Regions from separate parts of the Homo sapiens genome. Here region 2 is linked to region 1. Evidence: promoter capture Hi-C in 16 types of primary human blood cells and fetal thymus (Javierre and others, 2016). All regions are on one chromosome and are shown on one strand. The core of a region is centred on a gene start or on the middle of the fragment in contact, and the rest is flanking DNA. Distances in the headings are between cores, read along the strand shown. Region 1 holds the start of MTF1 (metal regulatory transcription factor 1). Region 2 has its middle 28 kb from the start of RRAGC.

Region 1 (5,879 bases), core at 3,346-5,845:
TGCAGTGAGCCGGGATCACGCCACTGCACTCCAGCCTGGGCAACAACAGCAAAACTCCATCTCAAAAAAAGAAGAAAAAAAGGACCTTGGAAAACTGGAATTCATATAATCAAAGGTGACTAGGCTGATGAGAGACTGGGGAAAATGTCACAGAGGGACATTTAAGTAAATGGAGGTGGTTAGCCTGTACAAGAGGAAGAAAAATCCATGATCTTCAAATAGCTGATGGACTGTTCTGTGGGAGAAAGTTTACTCAGGAAGGCAGATCTAGAACCAGTGGGCAGCACCTGCAGAAAGGCAGGTTTTGGTTCTATACAAGTAAAAGCTTTCTAACAATCAGAGCTGGCTAACAAATGTATTGGGTTGGGGTATGAAACACTCTGCTCTTGTTGTTCTGGATGTCTTCAAGCAGAAACAAGATTAACTGATGTCAGGGATGCCATAGGGAGATTTCTGCATAGGGTAGGAGGTGGGACAAGATGGTCTCTCTAAGGCTAGCAAAGGAAAAGTGATATGCCATCAATAAGCCATATGCAATTTTAAGACCTCAACCACAGCAAAAAAGATATTCCTTGCTAAATCATTCACCCTATTTCTGTTTGGTAACATCTTAGTCCTTGGTACTGTAACTACTAGTGACTTATTTTTTTCTAATTGACCTGTAATAGTTCCTGGATGGGCCGGGCATGGTGGTTCATGCCTGTAATCCCAGCACTTTGGAAGGCCAAGGCAGGTGGATCACCTGAGGTCAAGAGTTCGAGACCAGCCTGGCTAACATGGTGAAACCTCATTTCTACTAAAAATTCAAAAAATTAGCTGGGCATGGTGGTGCGTGCCTGTAATCCCAGCTACTCAGGAGGCTGAGGCAGGAGAATTGCTAGAACCCAGGAGGCAGAGGTTGCAGTGAGCCAAGATCGCACCACTGCACTCCAGCTTAGGCAACAAGAGTGAAACTCCATCTCAAAAAAAAAAATAGTTCCTAGATAATGTATATCACTACCTTTAAACCAGAACTTTTATTCTGCTAATAATAACCACTAATATAATTTGTAAAATGCTTTACAGTTTTCAAAACATCCTGACATGCATTAGCTTACTCACATTAGCTAAACATGAAAATGAAAACTTATTTTAGATAACCTGCTCTCATTTACTGTCTCTTGCCTGAATTTCCTTTTTTTTTTTTTTTTTTTTTTTTTGAGACTGAGTCTCTCTCTCTCATCCAGCCTGGAGTGCAGTGGCACGATCTTGGCTCCCTGCCACCTCCACCTCCCAGATTCAAGTAATTCCCCTGCCTCAGCTTCCCAAATAGCTGGGATTACAGGCACCCGCCACTATGCCTGGCTAATTTTTCTATTTTTAGTACAGATGGAGTTTCACCATGTTGGCCAGGGTGCTCTTAACCTCAGGTGATCCACCTGCCTCGGCCTCCCAAAGTGCTGGGATTACAGAAAGTGTTAGGATTACAGGCATGAGCCACTGTGCCCAGCCTGAATTTCTTTCTTTTTTTTTTTTTTTTTTTAGATGGAGTCTCACTCTATCGCCCAGGCTGGAGTACAGTGGCATGATCTCGGCTCACTGCAACCTCTGCCTCCCGGGTCCAAGTGATTCTCCTGCCTCAGCCTCCTGAGTAGCTGGGATTACAGCCATGTGCCACCAAGCCTGGCTAATTTTTGTATTTTTAGCAGAGACAGGGTTTCACCATGTTGGCCAGGCTGCTCTCGAACTCCTGACCTCAAATGATCCACCCGCCTCAGCCTCCCAAAGTGCTGGGATTACAGGCGTGTGCCACTGTGAAATAAAAGTTCATTAAACATTCACTAAGATAATAAAACATATTCCAGCAGATACTCATCTCTAAAACAAATCATTTAAACACAACCAGGAGATAAGCCAAATATAGTTATTTCTTCATCAAATAAGCAAACTCCAGTTATTTCCCTGTAGATAAGCTAAATAGTTATTTTAGCACCAGAAACATGGGTCTACTTAAGTGAAATTTCTGTTTTATTTATGATTTGGGGAAGGAAATTCGAGAAATTACAATTTGATATTCCCAAATTTCAATGTGGCTATACAAACCAAAAGTTCCAGAAGCAATCACAACAAAACCTGAGGCATATGTTGTTGATAGCAAAACTACTTAAGTCCTAACCCCATGCACTCCTTTACTCCCCAGCTAAAATTTGCACCAAGAATTTTGTAAGGACTTGCCCCAAAACCAAACTAGGCCCTCACTGACTGCTTTACTTACTTCTTTACGTTTTGTTTCCGGACATTCCGACTGCAGAGTGAGGGTTGCACCTTCAATATTTCTTGGCATGGGTGTGGAACCAGGGTTTATTGTCAAATGAATCTGATCTGGTGAGATAATGTGCTGCACATAACCCTGGGACATTGCTTCATGATCTATCAGGTGAAAGCCCTCTTCACCCCCTACTAGAAAAGGCAAGTGTTCTCCGCACTGTCCGTCGTCATCTTCATCCTCCAAAGTGCCAGGGTCCTGCTCAATAAGAACAGTGGTCCTATCATAAACAGTTCCAGATGAGGAAGGCACCAGTCCGTTTTTATCCACAAACCTGAGCATTTTATCATCGGGGGTCAGCTCATCTTCCTCTGCCTCAAAGTAGATGATGTTGTTGTCTGGACTGTGTTCCCCCATGGTTCAGTTGTGCTCAGCCCAGTTGTGAGAAATGAAAACGTAATGACTTGTCTGCAACAGAACAAAGCCAGAGTTAGAGTCATACCACAAGACCGACGGACCTCCTCAGCAACCACAAGGCTCATTTTCCCTCTCACTTAAAGAGCAAGCCAAAGCAAATGAAAAACCATCCTTGGGAATAATTTTTTTATTTTAACTTTAAAACCATCAAGTCATTTTTAAAGAAAAGCAATGCCGACTGGGCGTGGTGGCTCACACCTGTAATCCCAACACTTTGGGAGGCTAAGATGGGAGGATCGCTTGAGGCCAGGAGTTTGAGATCAGCCTGGTCAACATAGTGAGACCCCCATCTCTAATAAAAAAAAAAAAAAAAGAAAAAGAAAGAAAAGCAATGCTTTTCAAAAACTGAATAAGTTCATAAGACCTTCTGAATACGCCTGTCAAACAATTTGAAACTTGGTCAAAATATTTAAAGGGGACAAAAGAGCAAACAGAACAGCAGCTGCTGAAAGGCTGAGTTGCTACAAATCTTAAGGGAAACTCCATCCATTCAAATATCCTCCAAATCAGACCACGAGGCAGTAAATGGTTTCATGCAGTTTATGGTAGAAGGAGCAAGGCTTTGGAGGCAGAGTCATCTACCTACAAATCCTGTCTTTGCCTTTTACTACATGGGTAACTTTTCTGTGCCTCATTTTTCTTACGTGCAAGGTGGGACCAGTAATTCCTGTTCTCTCAAAGTTTTTATAAGAAATAAAAGAGGCAACATATGTAAAGCACAATGTTTGGTAAATAGTAGAGGAACAAGTATGAATTCCTTCCCCCCTACCTAGAACAGATGTTTCAACCTTCTGGGTGGAAGGGCTATTCCTCAATCAGGCACAAACAACGAAGATCACTGTATCTATTTATGTCCTAAAACAATATGGTGTCAACAAGAAGTTATGGTTCTGTGGTGGGCTCTCGTCCCTGAATCAATTGAGTCTTATTATTTTTGTTTCTACAGCTCCTAGCATAGTACACTGATACTATGATAAGAGTTCAGGAAATGTCAGCTAAATGACTGAAAGACATGGCTACCTACTCTCTCGTGAAGATATACTATCTTGGGAAGATACATTCTCTTGAGAAAAATACCACATTTGAAGCTTTCATGTTCTGGAATAGTGATTCTTCCTTCATCTGCAAACACAGGCTCTACAAATGTGGGTTTGGCAGGCAGAATAGAGAATTTTAAAATAATCAGCACATCCCTTTTAGTTTTCAGTCTGGCTTTGCGCTTTATCTTTCTCTTCTGCTCTGGGTTAGAAAGTGAGCCTTTACTTAGTGGGATGGCTAGACAGTTACCAGAGACAGGCCAAAGGATTGGATCCGGGAGGTACCGGCCCGACCCCTAGCTCTGGCTTACGCAACCCCACAGATGTACATTTCGCTGCATCTGAGCAGAGAGAGAAGAGCACCGAGGGCCCCAGTGGGCTGCCCCGGCACCCTCGGCGGCAACGCGGAGACCAACTGTCCGAAACAAACAAGACCAGGAGGTTTGAGGGTAGCCAACGAGGAGTGCGAACAGAGCCCCCTTGAGAGGAGGCTGGGAAAAGGAACCTGTCTGGGATAGCCCCCAGCACAGGGCTACACAGAAAAATCCGAAGACAAGCTGGGGGTCTCCAAGCAAGGAGGAGAGGGGCAGGGTCCGGGTCTCCATGGAAACAGGGAAGGGGGGCTGGATACCCATCCCCATGGAAACGGAGAAGGGGTGGGGTCCCTATGGTGACCAAACTGAGGTCTCTATTGGGAAATGCTTCAGGAGGGAGCCTAAGTCCCGCGCCTCCCGGTAAGTCCCAAGCCCAGGCCGAGTCTAGTTTCGCCTTTTACCTCCGCGGCTCCCGGCAACGGCGGCAGCAGCAGCTTCTCCCCTCCCCAGCGGCACCATGATTGCCCCCACCTTCCCCTAACGTCACTTCCGCTTCCTCTTTCCGGAGGAAGGTGGGGACAGAGGATCCGCCCCTCCCTGGCGCCTCTGGTTGGCTCAGGTTGTCAGGGGGCTGAGCTGCAGCCTCCAATTGGCGAGCGGGGCACCGAGGGGAAGGCGCCCAGGAGGTGGGTTCATCCGCGTGGGGAAGCGCCCGGGGTGGCCACGCGGGGCCCGGAGGGTGTCGCCCTCGCGGCACCGGAGTCAAGGAGAAGGGAACGAATCCCCAAGGAAGAATCCGAAATGTCCTCAGCCAGGTTTGCGCTGACCGCCCTCGCCCTGGCAGCCACAGCCGCAGCGGGAAGGACCACAGTTGGCAGTCAGAACCCTGGCTCCAACCCGCCAGGGGAGCCTGGACGGCCGCGACGTTCCCGGGTTTCTCCTGCCGGGACCCCGGCCTTCCCTTCAGCACCCATCAAAGTTAACACAGGCAGGAGGCCCAGAAAGGAAGACAAGACCCCAAAGGCAGAACTAAGAGTATTCTAAGCCCAGCTGGAGAGGACGCCGCCGCCTCTTCCCCTTCTCACGCGCTTGCCTAGGACCCCCAGCTCCCTTCTCACGCGCTTGCCCAGGCTGGCGGTCCCAACTTTCTTCCCCTGCAAGAGGACGCGGCTACGGCGGGACTCATGCCCGGGCCAGTTAGCGCCACCTACCGGCCACTCCCTTCCTTTCACCGTTCACATTGTCCTGCTGGCCCGCGTCTTAAACCCATTTCACAGTGCCCAGAAGTAGTGGGCATTCGTACCCAGGAAGCGATTCTGCCTTCGTTATGCCCCTGTCCTTTCCAAATGCCTGGAGGATCTAGCTGTTAGATCCTCCCAGCTGCCACTGCCTGTTTTAACCATAAGCTGCTTCTCTCGAATATTCAGAGTGGGACAACTCCAAAGACCAGACCAGGGGTCAAGGGGTTCAGGTCAGTGCCATAACCATTTCTTGCTGGAAGTATGTGAATAGTGACTGGTACCCACCAGACTGCCAGGAATATGTCTCTTTGGCCCCAAGGCTTGAGCCACAAAATCCAGCTGCAGCGAACTGCCATCTCTTAAGACATAAAAACATACACAACCGCCACTGTTAAAAATACATTTATCATTAAAATATATTACACATGGAGACAGGATGCATCATATACAGTTTGGAAGACTTGCTGGCCCAGAAAATCCCACTTGTTTCACCGAACACTCATTTTTTCAGTGATTTTACATTTTATTTTTAGAGACGGGGTCTCCCTCTCTCACCCGGGCTGGC
Region 2 (6,326 bases), core at 641-3,140, 970 kb after region 1:
AATATGGTTTTAAAAAAGTAATGAGATGTTTCGAATCTATATTATTTTAAAGTACAAGAATCAATCTATTTAAGAACATCCTAAAATTGATGGCTAAAACATGTATGAAAGATCCCGTTCTTGTATTCTTATCAACATTGAATATCATCCTTTGAAAAAAATACCCATTTGATAAAGAGAAAGGGAAGCTTATTATTTTAGTGTTCATTTCTTCTATTATTAGTGAGGTTTTATGGGTTTTCATGGTTTTGGCCTCTTCTACTTCGTGTCACACACTAATATCTTTCCCTCATTTTGTTTTAGAATGTATTTTTTACTGATTTGTAAAATTGTATAAAAAATATTAACTTTCAGGCTGGGCGCAGTGGCTCATGCCTGTAATCCCAGCACTTTGGGAGGCCAAGGTGGGTGGATCATGAGGTCAGGAGTTTGAGACCAGCCTGGCCAGCATGGTGAAACCCCGTCTCTACTAAAAATACAAAAAATTAGCCAGGCATGGTGGCGGGTGCCTGTAATCCCAGCTACTTGGGAGGCTGAGGCAAAAAAATCACTTGAACCCGGGAGGTGGAGGTTGCAGTGAGCTGAGATCGTGCCATTGCACTCTAGCCTGGGCAATGAGAGTGAAACTCCATCTCAAAAAAAAAAAATTAACTTTCTCTATTATACATAATAAGCATATTTCCTAGTTTCTCTTGTTTAATTTAATAGTACGTTTTGACATAAACAATCTGTTCATTCTAGGTGTGTAAAGTCACACACACACCAGAATTTGTTGTTAAATCACCTCTAATGTTTATCCTCCTTATTCTCTTGATGTGTTGATATGTGTAGGGCTTGGAGTCAGAAGGTCAGCACTCATTGGCTTACCAGCTGCGTGATTTAGGGCAAGCCACTTCACTTCTCTGAGACTCCGTTCTCCCCCATCTGCATCCTAACTTTTGTCAGGTTGAAATTCAGTCAGCACTATAATGGCAAGGACTTTGCTCTCTTGTTCACTGATAGATCCTGGGAACCTAGAACACAGCCTTGCATCCAGCAAGCACTCACTAAGGATTTGTTGAATGAATGAATAAGCATCTGGCTTGGACCCCAGCCTCACTGTCACCCACAGCAAGCCCAGCAACCACTGCCCCTGAGCAGCCTTAAACGGATCACAAGTTGTGTCTCCCAGTCATGTTGTTTACATTTTTCCCATTCTTACCCAGCACAGTGAAGCCTGTACTGAGTGTATACTATGAAGCCAGCCCTGTGCCAGGCACCCCTACTGCATAAAAAAGAGGACTGGCAAATACACAGACTCTGCCCTTCAGCCTAGTGATTGCCCTTGCAGAATTTCATTAAATATACAGGATAATTGAAAAAGAAATTAGATGGGCCAAAATGTGGGCCAGGAATCTTCAAAATGTTGGGGCTCAGAACACAGTACCCTAAAGTGTGATGCCTGGACGTGCTGAATACTTTGAACTGAAGGAAAGGGGCTCAGAAGTCTCTTTCTGATCTTCTCCTGCTCTTCTTTCTCCTGCTCCCATTTTTACCTAAAGGCAGGCCATAAAACTGAAATTCTGGCTGGGCATGGTAGCTCACATCCATAATCCTAGCATTTTGATCCCAGGAGTTTGAGACCAGCCTGGGCAACATGGGAAAACCCTGTCTCTACTAAAAATACAAAAGAAAATTAGCTGGGCGTAGTGGCACTACCTATAGTTCCAGCTACTCAGGAGGCTGAGGTGGGAGGCTCCCTTGAGCACGGGAGGCAGAGGTTGCAATGAGCTGAGATCGCGCCACTGCACACCAGCCTGGGTGACAGAGCGAGTCTCTGTCTTAAAAAAAAAAAAAAAAAGCCAAGAAACAAAAAACTAGAATCCCTCTTCCCCAAGGTAGGTCATAGCAACTAGAACCCCTCTCTCCCAAAGCCAGCCATAAAATCTATAATGTTACTCTAACATTTTCCCACCTTTCTGTGTAAGAGCTAACCATAAGGAAATTCTCTGACCTACCTTGTCTGATAGTAGGTCTTAAGACCCTCATTCCAGGAGGTGTCCTGCCCTATACCCTGGAGGAAGGAATGTTGCATAGAAAGGCCAAGAAGAATCTGGACAGACCTTGCAGGGTGTCCCCCTTCAGTCTGTTACCACGAGGTCTTACCCTCTGTGTCCAATCCCATTTCTACACGGCTGTCCGTTCTTCATCTAATTGAAGCATAAAAATGGACAGTTTTCCCTGTGTCTCTGGTTTTCGTTTCTAAAGGCTCCCGTGTCATGTAAAACATTATTTCATTTTCTTTCCTTTTTTCTTTTTTTGAGATGAAGTTTCGTTCTTGTTGCCCAGGCTTGAGTGCAATGGTGCAATCTTGGCTCACTGCAACCTCTGCCTCCTGGCTTCAAGCGATTCTCCTGCCTCAGCCTCCCGAGTTGCTGGGATTACAGGCGCCCGCCATCATGCCCGGCTAATTTTTTTGTATTTTTAGTAGAAATGGGGTTTCACCACGTTGGCAGGCTGGTCTTGAACTCCTGACCTCAGGTGATCTACCCCCTTCAGCCTCCCAAAGTGTTGGGATTACAGGCGTGAGCCACCACGCCCGGCCCATGTCATGTAAAACTTTAAATAAATCTATTATGCTTTTCTCCTGTTAACCTGTCTTTTTTTTCTTTCTTTTCTTGCCTTGTCTTATGGTGCTGATCCTGTTAACCTGTCTTTGTCTGTTTTACTAGACCTGGCCAGGAACCCTCAGTGGGTTGAGGAAACTCTTCCTCCCCTCCACTGAGGAATGCCATCAAGAAGGGAGATGCCGAATCGAGGAAGCCTCGTTACAGAAGGGACCCGTCAGGGGACACGAAGGGCAGTGACCCTCGGACACACAGAGAAGAGGAAGCTGGCAGGCCAGAAGGGGGGAACTAATGAGCTAGGCTTATTTTTCCTCCCAAAATGATTGGCTTCATGTTCTACTTGACCACAAGACAATTACGTTTTATATTCATGATTTCCCTCACCCAGACTATTTTACTTGCTCATTGACACTTGTACCATATGCCAATGTATCAGTTTCAAGAAAAGCTCTCCTTTTATAGTTTTTACATATATAAGGGGCAGAATTGGAAATCCTAGGGAAAAAAATGTGAAATCCAGAACATGCAGCCAAGTCCAATTTTGCATTTCTGTTCTAAATAAGCCTCCTAAGTGGCTTATGCTCAGATTCACAACTGGTTCCTCACCTTTTTGGAGACTGAAAAGGCCAGGTTCTCTCTGTCCAGTTGGTACATATAATTTTGCACACAAATTCAGGGGCTCCTAAAGCCTCTGTAACCCATCCACGGACTCCTAAGATAGTTCGGTGATCTCCTCGCATGAGAAGTTCACTCTGATGAGTATCCAATAAACCCGACTTCAAATTCTAGTAATCACTATAATCTCTTTTGCCTAAGAAACATTATTTCTTTCTGGCATTTTGTAACTGGTCACAAAAACTGGATCTTTCTGGTTCATTCACCCACTATCTGCCTGAGCTCATAGCCAAGAATCATGACCCATACAGTATGTTAGTGTGTAAGTTAGGGTAACACTAGCTGTTATAATAGATAAAGCCCATAATCTCAAAAGCTTAACAGCAGAGACATCTATGTACTGCTCATCAGTCCAATGCAAGTGTTTCTGGTCAGCAGATGAGCCTTCCACTGTGTGATCCAGGAATCCAGATTCCTTCCGTGTCAAGGCTCTGCATTTTCAACAGTGTTTCTGTGCTCATCTGCAGTGATCTAGTAGAAGGGAAAAGAACATGGAGGATCATGCCTGAGATGATTACATGGGCTACGCCTAGAAATGGAATATGTCACCTCCACTCACATTCCATTGGTAGAACTCACATAGCCATCCCTAATTGCAAGAGTGGCTGGAAATATTATCTCTATGCAAAAGGAGAAGAAAGCTTATTCTGCCTCTGCCACAACGGGTGTGTACAGCTGCTCTCAGAAAGTCCCGGGATAAGCTGCTCGGAGTCCCAATGTAGCATTTTCCCTCGTTCCTTCTTCCTTCCTTCCTGGCAGCCTCTAAGAAGCTCTGTTACTATCAGGAAGGCAGATCTTTGCTCTGGCATCAGACAGATGGGACTTCAATTCCAAGCTATGCCAATAAAACTAGCAATATGTTCCTGCAGGTTCTCTGTGCCTCAGTTTTCTCATCTGTAAAATGGACCACAACAATAGCTCCAACCTCATTACACTGGATGGATTAGAGGAGAAGGCACAAGTAAGGCTCTTAGCACAACGGCTGGCAAGCTGTAAGCTCTCAAATATTAAGATACGCATGCTACTGCTAATCATAATTTTAATTAAACTAGTACAATTATTAGTATAGGCTAGCCCAAATTTTTTAAAAGAAGAAAAGGATCTAAGAGATAAGCATTGAGGCTCCTGTGAGAATTGAGATAAACTGTGGTAAGGGATAACATGAAAATAATACCAGCTAAACAGCACTTTTTTGACCATTATTTTGGATCTGAAAGAAATCAAGAATAAATGAAGGACTTGATACATTGGAAGAGGAGAGTCAAGGACCTACAGAGGCAGGTCGAGATCTCCACTGTGTGGCCCAGATCTCCATTTGGAAGGCCTCTCAAGGTCACTAACATTCCTAGGCAAAATCTAGGAGAATCTGTCTCCTTTTCCAGATTCCAGGCACAGAAACCTGAAGGATAAGAACAAATTAGAGACCTTAATTTCATTTCAACAAATAAGAGACATTTCAGTGGTGAGCATTCCTCCCTTTCTACCTGGTTTCCTTCTCACTGCATGAATCATTCTAACTTCTGTTCCAGCTGTCTTCCTTCCATTGACTGACCAAGGCCCTCCCTAAGGCCCAGTTCTGCCTCCCACCCCACCCTGCTCCCACTCAGTATGCCAATTCGATCTCTAGCTCAGCCCTCTTCCCCTTCATCCAGCCTCAACACTCTAGTAGTCCAGAGAACATCTCCATGGAGATCCTGTGGCCCCTGACCCTAATGAGTTTCTTTTTGCCAGACAGCCTGCCTGCCTTTCTCAATTGTCCCGTTCCCATCAATAGACTGCCACAGGGGTCATGTGAGGAACTAGTCCAAGGAGCCTCCGTGCTAGACATCTAGCCAGGAAGAACTACAGTGCAGTAGAAGAAAAGAATCCTCCAAGCATGGAAATGGCCAATAGCTCCCTTTCCAAAGTCAAGACAGATATTCGAGAAATGTTTGGTAGGGTTATAAGCGTTATTTCTCAGTTCATCTTCCAAAGCTGTAGAGGCAGTACATTTTCTGGGAAAAAGCCTCAGTACAGAACATGCCAGCACTGCTTTTCAGAGAAAGATAGGCCCTGTCTGGAGCCTCATTACCTGGAACACAAAGTTTGCATGCCAATTTGCATGGAGATAAGAGAGAGGCCATGGAAAGAAAGGAAGGAATATTCACAATTTGCTAAAATGTGTGTGCCAGCACCTCTTTTTTAAAGAAAAGCAAAAAGAATATTGTAGAAAATTAATATTCCATTTCTCTAAGTCAAGTTCCTGTCTGTTCGGCAGGTTACTTTGTAATAAACCAAATTAATTGTCTCCCACATGCCTTCTAATATTTTATCAGTCCAGGCTGGGTGTGGTGGCTCACGCCTGTAATCCCAGCACTCTGGGAGGCCGAGGCGAGCAGATCACTTGAAGTTAAGAGTTCGAGACCAGCCTGGCCAACATGGTGAAACCCCATCTCTACTAAAAGCACAAAACATTAGCCAGGCCTGGTGGTGCACGCCTGTAATCCCAGCTACTCAGAAGGCTGAGGCAGGAGAACTACTTGAATCCAGGAGGTGGAGGTTGCAGTGAGCCGAGATCACGCCACTGCACTCCAGCCTGGGCAACAGAGTGAGACTCCATCTCAAAACAAAACACACAATAACAAATATATATATTTGATCAGTTCAAAAGATGCATTTTAAAGTGTAAGAATCTTAAAGTGGAAGTTGCAGCACTTTGCGGGCAACACGTTGGTAGTAACTGGCATTTTCAAGTGTGGGGAGGAACAACTAGTTTCCTGCCATTCAGTTCCTCATTATAACAGTCCTTTGCAATTTTCTCAATTATATTTTAAACAGGTCTGAAGATGCACTGGTGTATCTAGTTCTTTTTACACTAAAATTTGTCTTTGCAGAGCAAAGTCACAGCTGGGGATTGTGAAGCAATTACATGGCTCTAGAAGAAAGAAAAACAAGCTGGGAGCAATGACTCACACCTGTAATCCCAGCACTTTGGGAAGCTGAGGCAGTGGAGGATTGCCTGATCCCAGGAGTCTGAGACCAGCCTGGGCAACATGGAGAGACCCT

The links. Contacts are between HindIII fragments. The CHiCAGO score rates a contact against its expected background, and 5 or more counts as called.
Region 2: a contact is called between a fragment that was not itself captured here and the fragment with the promoter of MTF1 in region 1, in 1 of 17 cell types (non-activated CD4 T cells). The highest score is 5.2, in non-activated CD4 T cells.

Annotation. Positions count from the first base shown.
Region 1 is chr1:37,854,997-37,860,875 of GRCh38, forward strand. MTF1 (metal regulatory transcription factor 1) reads right to left here and starts at 4,596. Exons shown (of 11, transcript NM_005955.3): 1 at 4,535-4,596; 2 at 2,255-2,713. The coding sequence starts at 2,662. INPP5B (inositol polyphosphate-5-phosphatase B) reads right to left here. Exons shown (of 24, transcript NM_005540.3): 24 at 5,701-5,879. RefSeq lists a silencer at 4,533-4,862. The HindIII fragment of the contact is 3,574 bases long and covers 3,809-5,879 here.
Region 2 is chr1:38,828,375-38,834,700 of GRCh38, forward strand. No RefSeq gene overlaps it. Among named protein-coding and RNA genes, the nearest start is that of RRAGC, 28 kb to the right of the region's middle. The HindIII fragment of the contact is 3,409 bases long and covers 187-3,595 here.